3 separate regions of the Homo sapiens genome follow, and all the other regions are linked to region 3. The links are contacts of gene promoters, found by promoter capture Hi-C in blood cells and fetal thymus (Javierre and others, 2016). All regions are on one chromosome and are shown on one strand. The core of a region is centred on a gene start or on the middle of the fragment in contact, and the rest is flanking DNA. Distances in the headings are between cores, read along the strand shown. Region 1 holds the start of TEX55 (testis expressed 55). Region 2 overlaps NR1I2 (nuclear receptor subfamily 1 group I member 2). Region 3 holds the start of POGLUT1 (protein O-glucosyltransferase 1).

Region 1 (2,759 bases), core at 29-2,528, 320 kb before region 3:
ATAAAATGGAAAAATAAATCTCCAAAACCAATAGCACTTTGAAGCTACAAGCCATAGCCCAAGACCTATTTTACTCTAAACACAGTATCCAATGGTGTCATGCATTTTTAAATAAATAAGGTAGATAATTCATAAAGTGACATTCAACAAGCACTTCTTGAGCACCTATTATGTTCTAGGCACTGTTACATAAATGACTTTACTTCAGTGTGCTTAGATTCCCCTTTCCATTCCTAAGTATGGTGTCAAGTGTATCCACTCTCCTTTGTCACAAGTATTTGAATTTGGATTTTAAGTCTCATTTCTAATTGTTTAATGCAGTTAAATCCCTACTAAAGGAATATCTGGCATCACACTACCAACCCTTGGCCTGCCTCAGTGATTTCAGGCTTTGCAAGGTCAAAGTAATTTGTCTCATCAATCACCACCTCTGTACTGGCCTACTCCTGAAAGTAGACAGCCTACTGACTCTGAGGTGCATTCTTAAGGTTGATTGCAAAGTGGGAGGACCAAATCTCAAAAACTGGGCCCCACTGGCCAACACTATCAAATACAAATTCTCCACTTGCTAAATATTCCTTCTGGTATCTTTCTCCCACTTTCCTTACTCCCTTCCTTTCTGGAACTCTGATTTGGCCTCCTTCTAACTCGCCTCTCTGCTGTAAGACCACTAGATGGTGCAGTTTTAGAACCCATTCTCACTGGATCTTCTCTCCTCTCTCTGGCTCTCCCGCCACAGATCACATGTCTAATCCAGCAAGAAAACACCTTGGGGCAGGAGTTTCCACTGCCAAGACAGCTATACCCAAAGGGGATGGCAATAGCAACAACCTCTGTTCAGTTTTGTGGTCCTCGTGCAGCTGGTTGTGTGTTCATCTGTTGACATTTGGAGGTGCGGTGGGGGATGTTAATCAGAGGAGCAGTACCTGAGAGAGGGCCTCTTTCTCACACACTGCGGAGAACCTCTGTGAACAAGGAAGAGGGTAACACTCTAGGTGGCGATGCACGGAGCCCCGTGGCCTGGTTGCTCGGCAGGGTGAGGAGAAGCTGTAACTGCCAGAGCCTGAGAATCGCCCCTTCTCAGGACATGGCGTACTCCCTGCGCTCGCCTGCACACTGCAGGGTCAGCTGACTGCCGTCCCTCCACTTACAACAGCGGGACGGCCACTCTCCCTGACGCACGCAGTGACCCGAACAAAGCCCGTGGGAATCATGGGGCGTTCCTGGAGGGTCGCCTAGACGACCCAGCCCAACCCCACCCACAGTGCCTGGCAACCTAGACCAGTCAGGGACGCGGCAGGAAATGGAAGAGCCTCCGCAAGAGGCTCTGGCTGAACCCTTGAAACATGAAAGCCCAGCCGCTCCCTCAAGTGCTGGCCACACTAAGGGCCAGGAAGAAGACGACCAGAAGAACCAGGCCGAAAGGAAGGCAGATAACCACACTGCTCACAGAATAGCTGACCAGACTGCCCTAAGAGTGCCTAGCCAGGCTGAATCCAGCATATTTAGCCAAGCTACCAACGGAGTAGCTGAACAAAATGGGCATAGTACACCTGGTCAGGCTGGCCGCAGAGCATCCAACCCTGCTGATGTTTCTGACCTTAGAGCAGATGATCAGGTTAATCAAACACCGTCTGAACAGACTAAAGGCAAGGCATCTAGCCAAGCTAATAATGTACAGCATGAACAGAGTGATGGTCAGGTGTCTGGCCTGACGGAGGAAAGAACTGCTGAACAGACTGAACGAAGATTACCTACCCAGGCTGAGAGAAGAACTTCTGGGCAGATTGATGGTAGACTGGCTATGCCATCTGACCAGAGAGGTTCCAGACAGACCGACCACAGAATGGCAGGCCAGTCTGAGAGAAGAGCTTCCGAGCAGATGGACCGCAGAATGTCTGGCGAGGCTGAGCGAAGAACTTCTGAGCAGATTACACACAGATTATCCAAACTATCTGAGAGAAGACCTTCTGTGCAGATTGACAGTGGGTCATCCGTCCCATCTGACCAAAGTCCTTCTGTACAGATTGACAGTGGATCGTCCGTACCATCTGACCAAAGACCTTCCGTACAGATTGACCGCAGAATGTCAGGGAAAGTTAGGAGAAGAAGTTCTGAGAAGACTGACTACAGATTGGCTGGCCTGGCTGACCCAGGAACTTCTGAGCAGACTGACCTCAGATTGTATGGCCTCGTTGACCACAAAACATCTGTAAAGACTCACCACCAAGTGTACGGCCAAGCCACTGAACTAGCTGAACACCAGGCTATTGACCAAGCTCATAGTAATGCTGATCAACCTCCAGTTGACAATGCTCACTACACTGAATCTGACCAGACTGACCACTTAGCAGACAGACAAGCTAATCATAAAGACCAGCTGTCTTACTATGAAACACGTGGCCAGTCTGAAGACAGAATATTTCCCCAGTTAGGCAACAGCAAAGAGGACAAAGAGGCTGACTACAGAGTACAACCCTGCAAATTTGAGGATAGCCAAGTAGACCTCAATTCCAAGCCTTCAGTTGAAATGGAAACTCAGAATGCAACCACTATCCCACCCTACAACCCAGTTGATGCCAGATTCACCAGTAACTTCCAAGCAAAAGACCAAGCTCTTTTCCCAAGACTCCCCTCCATCTCATCCAAATTGAACTATACCAGCAGTCAAGAAAAAACTCAAGCCATAGTAACCAAATCTGTAAGTTAAATGGGCATTTGATACCTACCTGGGAGATCAGAGATCTAGACGGGGCCTG
Region 2 (3,028 bases), core at 419-2,918, 330 kb after region 3:
CACTTGAACCCAGGAGGCAGAGGATATAGTGAGCTGAGATCGCGCCACTGCCCTCCAGAGTGGGTGACAGAGGAAGACTCCGTCTCAAAAACAAAAAACAAACAAAAAAAAAGAAACGTGGCCTCCAATGTTGGAGGTAGGCCTAGTGGGAGGTGTTTGGTCATGGGGGTGGATCCCTCATGACTGGTTTGGTACCCTCGGTAATGAGTGATTCTCACTCTTAGTTCATAGAAGAGCTGGTTGTTTAAAGAGCCCGGCACCTCCTCTCTCTCTTGCTCCCTCTTGCTGTGTGACATGCCGGCTCGCACTTCACCTTCCACCATGCTTGGAAGCTTCCTGAGACCTCACCAGAAGCAGATGCTGGTGCCAAGCTTGTACAGCCTTCAGAAGCACGAGCCAAACAAACCTCTTTTCTTCATAAATTACCCAGCCTCAGATTCCTTTGTAGCAATACAAAATGGACTAACACAATCAGATCTCACTGTAACTCTGGAAACTTGCTGCCCACCCATTCTCTTCTAGCCAAAGTCCACTTTTTCCCCTCCAGAGTTACCACAAGGAAAATGAACAGCCTCAATCCTTACCACTCAGGCAAGATTAAAGAGTTACAGTGCAGCAGAGAGGCAGGACAGGACCACCGTGGGCCAAGCGATCCCAACTCTGCCCAATCAGTGGAGGCTGCCTTCTGGAGGCTGTAGGGGAGGATCAGTTTCCTCACCTCTTCCAGCTTCTAGATGCCGTGGCAATCCTTGGCTCACAGCCCCTTCTTCCATCTTCAAAGCCAGCAACTTAGCATCTGACCCTTTTTCCACATTACGTCTCTTTCTCTGATCAAACCCAGGAAAGCTTTTCTAATTTTAAGATTCATGTGATTAGACTAGGCCTGCCTGGATAATTCAGCACACTCCCCATCTCCAGGTTCTGTACCCTCATCACATCTGCAGAGACCCTTTTGCCATATAAGGAAACATATTCACATGTTCTGGGGATAAGGGTGCAGACATCTTTGAGGGCCTTTATTCTATCTACCATAAGGACACGATCAAAAACATTATAGAGGCATGCCAGGCAATTAATTAATGAAAGTGTTATGACATTTTTCTGAATTCTGTGATGTTGTTACTTGTCCTTTTTAATGTCTGTCATTTGTTGTGATTTCTTTTCTCATTCTTTCTTACAAATATTCTCTTCGGTACATAATTTTGTATTTGTAATTGCGTGTTTTTTAAAATTATTTTTTAGACAGGGTCTCACTCTGTCACCCAGGCTGGAATGCAGTGGCACAATCCTAGCTCACCACAGCCTTGAATTCCTGGGCTCAGGCAATCCTCCCACCTCAGCCTCCCAAGTAGCTAGGACTACAGGCATGCACCAACATGCCTGGCTGAGTTTTTTTGTTTGTTTGTTTTTTTGGGGTGTTTTTTTTTGAGATAGAGTCTCACTCTGTTGCCCAGACTGGAGTTGTGTGAACATGGCTCACTGCAGCCTCGACCTCCTGGGCTCACGTAATCTTTTCATCTCAGCCTCCTGAGTAGCTGGGACCACAGGTACGTGCCACCACACTTGGCTAATTTTTAAATTTTTTTGTAGAGACAGGATCTCACCATGTCACCCAGGCATGTCTCGAACTCCTGGGCTCAAGTGATCCTCCCACTTTGGCCTCCCAAAGTGCTGAGATTATAGGTGTGAGCCACTCACCCAGCCTTTTTTTTTTTTTTTTTAAGAGATAGGGTCTTGCTATATTGTCCAGGCTGGTCTCATACTCCTCACAATTGATCCTTCCACCTCAGCCTCCCAAAGTGCTGACATTAGAGGCATGAGCCCCCACACCTGGCCTATATTCTTTTTTCTTAAATAGGACTGCCCAGGCCAAGCGCCATGGTTCATGCCTGTAATCCCAGCATTTTGGTTGGCCAAGGCAGATGGATCACCTGAGGTCAGGAGTTCAAGATTAGCCTGGCCAACATGGTGAAAAACCTGTCTCTACTGAAAATACAAAATTAATCTGGTGTAGTGGCCCATGCCTTGCGGTCCCAGCTACTTGGGAGGCTGAGCCAGGAGAATTGCTTGAACCCAGGAGGCACAGGTTGCAGTGTGCCAAGATCGTGCCTTTGCACTCCAGCCTGAGTGACAAGATTGAAACTCTGTCTCAAAATAAGTAAATTAAATTAAATAATGTAAAATAAAATAAAATAGGACTGCCCAAATTGTGTAAGCCTCAGAACCCACGTAAGCTGACTAAAGGGCACCTCTACTTGCCCATTGACTAACCTGAACACCAGATGAAATTGCTCTTCCAAACACCACTAGCTGGGGAGTTGGCTCTTGGCTGGGGTTGGTCAGTGCACAGGCCAGTAAGGGAGCTGGGCAAGTGCAGAAGTGGAGACTAGCTGTGTCCCAGACAGCGACTCTCCGGCTGTGACCCTGGAGAGTCCTTTAGCAGGGCAAAGTGCAACATAGGCAGACCTTAAGGGATGACTCAGTAACAGATAAGCTTTGTGTGCCTGCAGGGGGATGGGAAGAGGGTGGGGCAGGAGAGGGACATAAAAGGGCTCTGAGGCATTGTACTGTGAATTCCTTCAGTCTCCTGCTCTGCTCAGCCAGTCAGCCCTGCCTCCCTTGTTTAGGACCACACAGCACTGCTGGGTGTCTGCCTTTCCTTGTGACTCTTCTCTAGCCTCTGCATGGCCAGCAGCCCTCTTCTTTTCTCCTATTCTCTTAAGAAACATGCCCATCACCTGCAGTTTCTCTGGGCTCCCCGTTAATCTGCCTTCCTCATCTCCTAATGCTGCCTCCTCCCTCCCATTGCCGGTGCCTGGAAATAGTCAAGGCTGGGTTCTGTTCTTTTGCTTGAATTTCTTTCACTTGGCTTCTTGACTCTTTCTAAACTACAATCCCCCCATTCTCACTGCCTTAGTTTTCCCTCTCTCTGTGTTTCTCAAACTATATCCCACCACGCCCTGACAAGGGCTTCTCTCCTGTAGATCATCCCTTTTCTAGTATTTTGCTAGAAATATATAGTGGGATT
Region 3 (2,843 bases), core at 6-2,505:
TGTACTATACTATATACCTATATTGTCCAGTATCATGTTGCCCACTGTCAAGAAACAAAATTTCATCAAATTTAGTTTAAAGTTCTTGGCCAGGCATGGTGGCTCACGCCTGTAATCCCAGCACTTTGGGAGGCCGAGGTGGGCAGATCACCTGAGGTCAGGAGTTTGAGACCAACCTGGCCAACACGGTGAAACCCTGTCTTTACTAAAAATACAAAAATTACCCGGGCATGGTGACACACTCCTGTAATCCCAGCTACTCGGGAGACTGAGACAGAAGAATTGCTTGAACCCGGGAGGCAGACGTCATAGTGAGCCAAGATTGTGCCACTGCACTCCAGGCTGGGCAACAGAGTTAGACTGTCCTCTGTCTCAAAAAAAAAAAAAAATCGAATTGGCTTTTATTAGTGATTCATGAATCAGGCAGCATCTCATCTATAAAACAGAAAAGTGTTCTAATGAGCTGAGCAGAAGGGGTTGGGCTTATAGGCAGAAAAGGGCTGAAGAAAGCAGAAATAAGGAACAAAAAGCAGATTGGTCATTTTGAAGTTACTTTCCTCAAAGAGTTACATCAGAGGGGACTTCTTTATCATGCCAGCTCAGGTATATGGGCCCCTTCTCCTATTTGTTGGAAAACTGACCCCTTTTAAAGCTGAGTTTAATTACGCAGCACCTAGGACAAGTTGCCTCCATTCTGGTTTTGTCTGCTCTCTTGAGGCCTAGTGCCAGAGTTCTGTCCAAAACAACGACCTCCCATAAACTTTATTTAACACCATTGATCTTTTTTCCTACGTCTAAGTCACCCCAACTGTTATAAATTCCTATTACAAAGGGATCCCTGCTATGCTAATTGCAACCTTTGGGGTCTAACCGTGCTGTACACACACACACACACACACACACACACACACACACATGCTCAACAAATTTATGCTATTTGATAAGAGGCAATTTGACGTCAAGAGAAGAACTGTTTGGCCTAGGCTCTATGCCAAGTCTTGGTTGTGCCACTAACCGTGAAACATACCCTCTCTGACCTTCAGTTTTCTGGCTGCAGACCTATTTTCCCAGGGGTGCCAGGGAGGGAGGATAGGCAACTGGTCCATTCGTTTATCCTCCCCACCTTCCCGGCGCAGCCTTCTCAGGGAAACTCCGCCTCAAGGCTGGGGACTGGAGGAAGGGTGGTGGGGCCACGGTGGCCATCTTTGTGCGGGGCGACCCGCCGCCCACGTGCTGCGGCTCCCGGGCCATCTTTGTGCGGGGCCGCGCTTCCGCCAGCGCCGCAGCGGGGAATCTGCAGTAGGTCTGCCGGCGATGGAGTGGTGGGCTAGCTCGCCGCTTCGGCTCTGGCTGCTGTTGTTCCTCCTGCCCTCAGCGCAGGGCCGCCAGAAGGAGTCAGGTGGGCTCCGGGCAGTGCCGAGCCTGCCCCTTGGGCTCGGGGTCTGGCCGGAGTCCCGAGGCGCTCCCCCGCGCGGCCGGCTCCCGGGAAGATGCCGTGGCCGCTGTAGCTCGGAGCTGGGCAGAAGGCACCGGGGCGCCTTGCGGCGGAGAGTGAGGTGCCGGGGTCTCTGCTCCTGCTCTGGACCCTGGAGAGTAACCCATTCCCCGGAATTCAGAATGACAGGGAGGAGAGGGAATTCCCCGTTCACCCGCAGGAGGCGTGGCCCGTGCTTGGCTACTCTGGACCTGCCTGAAACACTGAGGGGTCGGGGATGGGGGCAAATGTCGTGCGCGCGAGCGTGTGTGTATATGCGTTGCCAGAAGAGAAGAGGGGTTTAATGTCTGTAGCTTTTAACTGATCCTCTTTGTGGAGTTCAATTTGATTAGTAGAAAGTGAGAGTCCGCGTCACTATCCATAGCATTCTGAGGGTTGAGCATTAAGCTTGGGAATTTTCCAGTTTCTTGGACACCTGACAGCCGGATAGAGGAACAGACTTGACGTGAGCGTGGGAGTTGCACACACAAAAATTCCTCCCTAGCGTTTCGTTTCCATCAGTGGGATGGGAAGGGGATTTCTGAAAGTTTTGGTCTTCTGTTTCTTCTGTTGGTGTGGTGTCAGCAAATAACATTCAGGAAAATTTTTTTAACTCTCATTTACTTCACTTTTTAAAGGTTCAAAATGGAAAGTATTTATTGACCAAATTAACAGGTCTTTGGAGAATTACGAACCATGTTCAAGTCAAAACTGCAGCTGCTACCATGGGTGAGTTCTTTTCTTTGATGTGTCTTTGAGAGTTTAGTTGCTGTCACAGGAAGTATTCTAACATCCTTGAGAGATTTTGGTTGCAGTGGTCAGAAAGGCAAGGATGTTTTTCTATTTCTGGGGAATAAAAATGCTCTCGCATGGGAAAGGCTCAGGTGGTGTCAACCTAACCACTGACTCACTGCGGGATTCAGTGCATGTGCATCTGTTTTTCCCACTGGGCTGCAAGCTTCCTGAGGTCAGGGTCTGTGTCTTATTTGCTGTTGTCTCCCTGGTGCTAGCTGTCAGTGCGTGCTCGATAAATATTGTTGAGGAAATAAACCCATCTATCGCTGAATCTAGTCCTAAATTTCCTGATGGTTATCTTTAGAAAATGCACATCAGGCTGGGCATGGTGGTTCATGCCTGTAATCCCAGCACTTTGAGAGGCCAAGGCAGGTGGATCACCTGAGGTCAGAATTTCGAGACCAGCCTGGCCAACATGGTGAAACCCTGTCTCTACTAAAAATACAAAAATTAGCTGGGCATGATGGCACGTGCCTGTAATCCCAGCTACTCGGGAGGCTGAGGCAGGAGAATCGCTTGAACCCGGGAAGCAGAGGTTGCATTGAATCCAGATCATGCCACTGCACCCCAGCCT

Evidence for each region. Contacts are between HindIII fragments. The CHiCAGO score rates a contact against its expected background, and 5 or more counts as called.
Region 1: the fragment with the promoter of TEX55 here is called in contact with the fragment with the promoter of POGLUT1 in region 3 in 4 of 17 cell types (non-activated CD4 T cells, activated CD4 T cells, fetal thymus and 1 more); the score reaches 10.5 in non-activated CD4 T cells.
Region 2: a fragment that was not itself captured here is called in contact with the fragment with the promoter of POGLUT1 in region 3 in 1 of 17 cell types (erythroblasts); the score reaches 5.6 in erythroblasts.

Annotation. Positions count from the first base shown.
Region 1 is chr3:119,144,887-119,147,645 of GRCh38, forward strand. It overlaps TEX55 (testis expressed 55), which reads left to right and starts at 1,279. Exons shown (of 3, transcript NM_152539.3): 1 at 1,279-2,701. The coding sequence starts at 1,304. It also overlaps a transcript of IGSF11 not described here. RefSeq lists a silencer at 536-830. The HindIII fragment of the contact is 11,642 bases long and covers 1-2,759 here.
Region 2 is chr3:119,792,789-119,795,816 of GRCh38, forward strand. The region is part of intron 1 of NR1I2 (nuclear receptor subfamily 1 group I member 2); the gene reads left to right. Among named protein-coding and RNA genes, the nearest start is that of NR1I2, 12 kb to the left of the region's middle. The HindIII fragment of the contact is 1,648 bases long and covers 845-2,492 here.
Region 3 is chr3:119,467,708-119,470,550 of GRCh38, forward strand. It overlaps POGLUT1 (protein O-glucosyltransferase 1), which reads left to right and starts at 1,256. Exons shown (of 11, transcript NM_152305.3): 1 at 1,256-1,399; 2 at 2,113-2,203. The coding sequence starts at 1,315. RefSeq lists enhancers at 920-1,420, 1,113-1,282 and a silencer at 1,333-1,532. The HindIII fragment of the contact is 3,798 bases long and covers 1-1,880 here.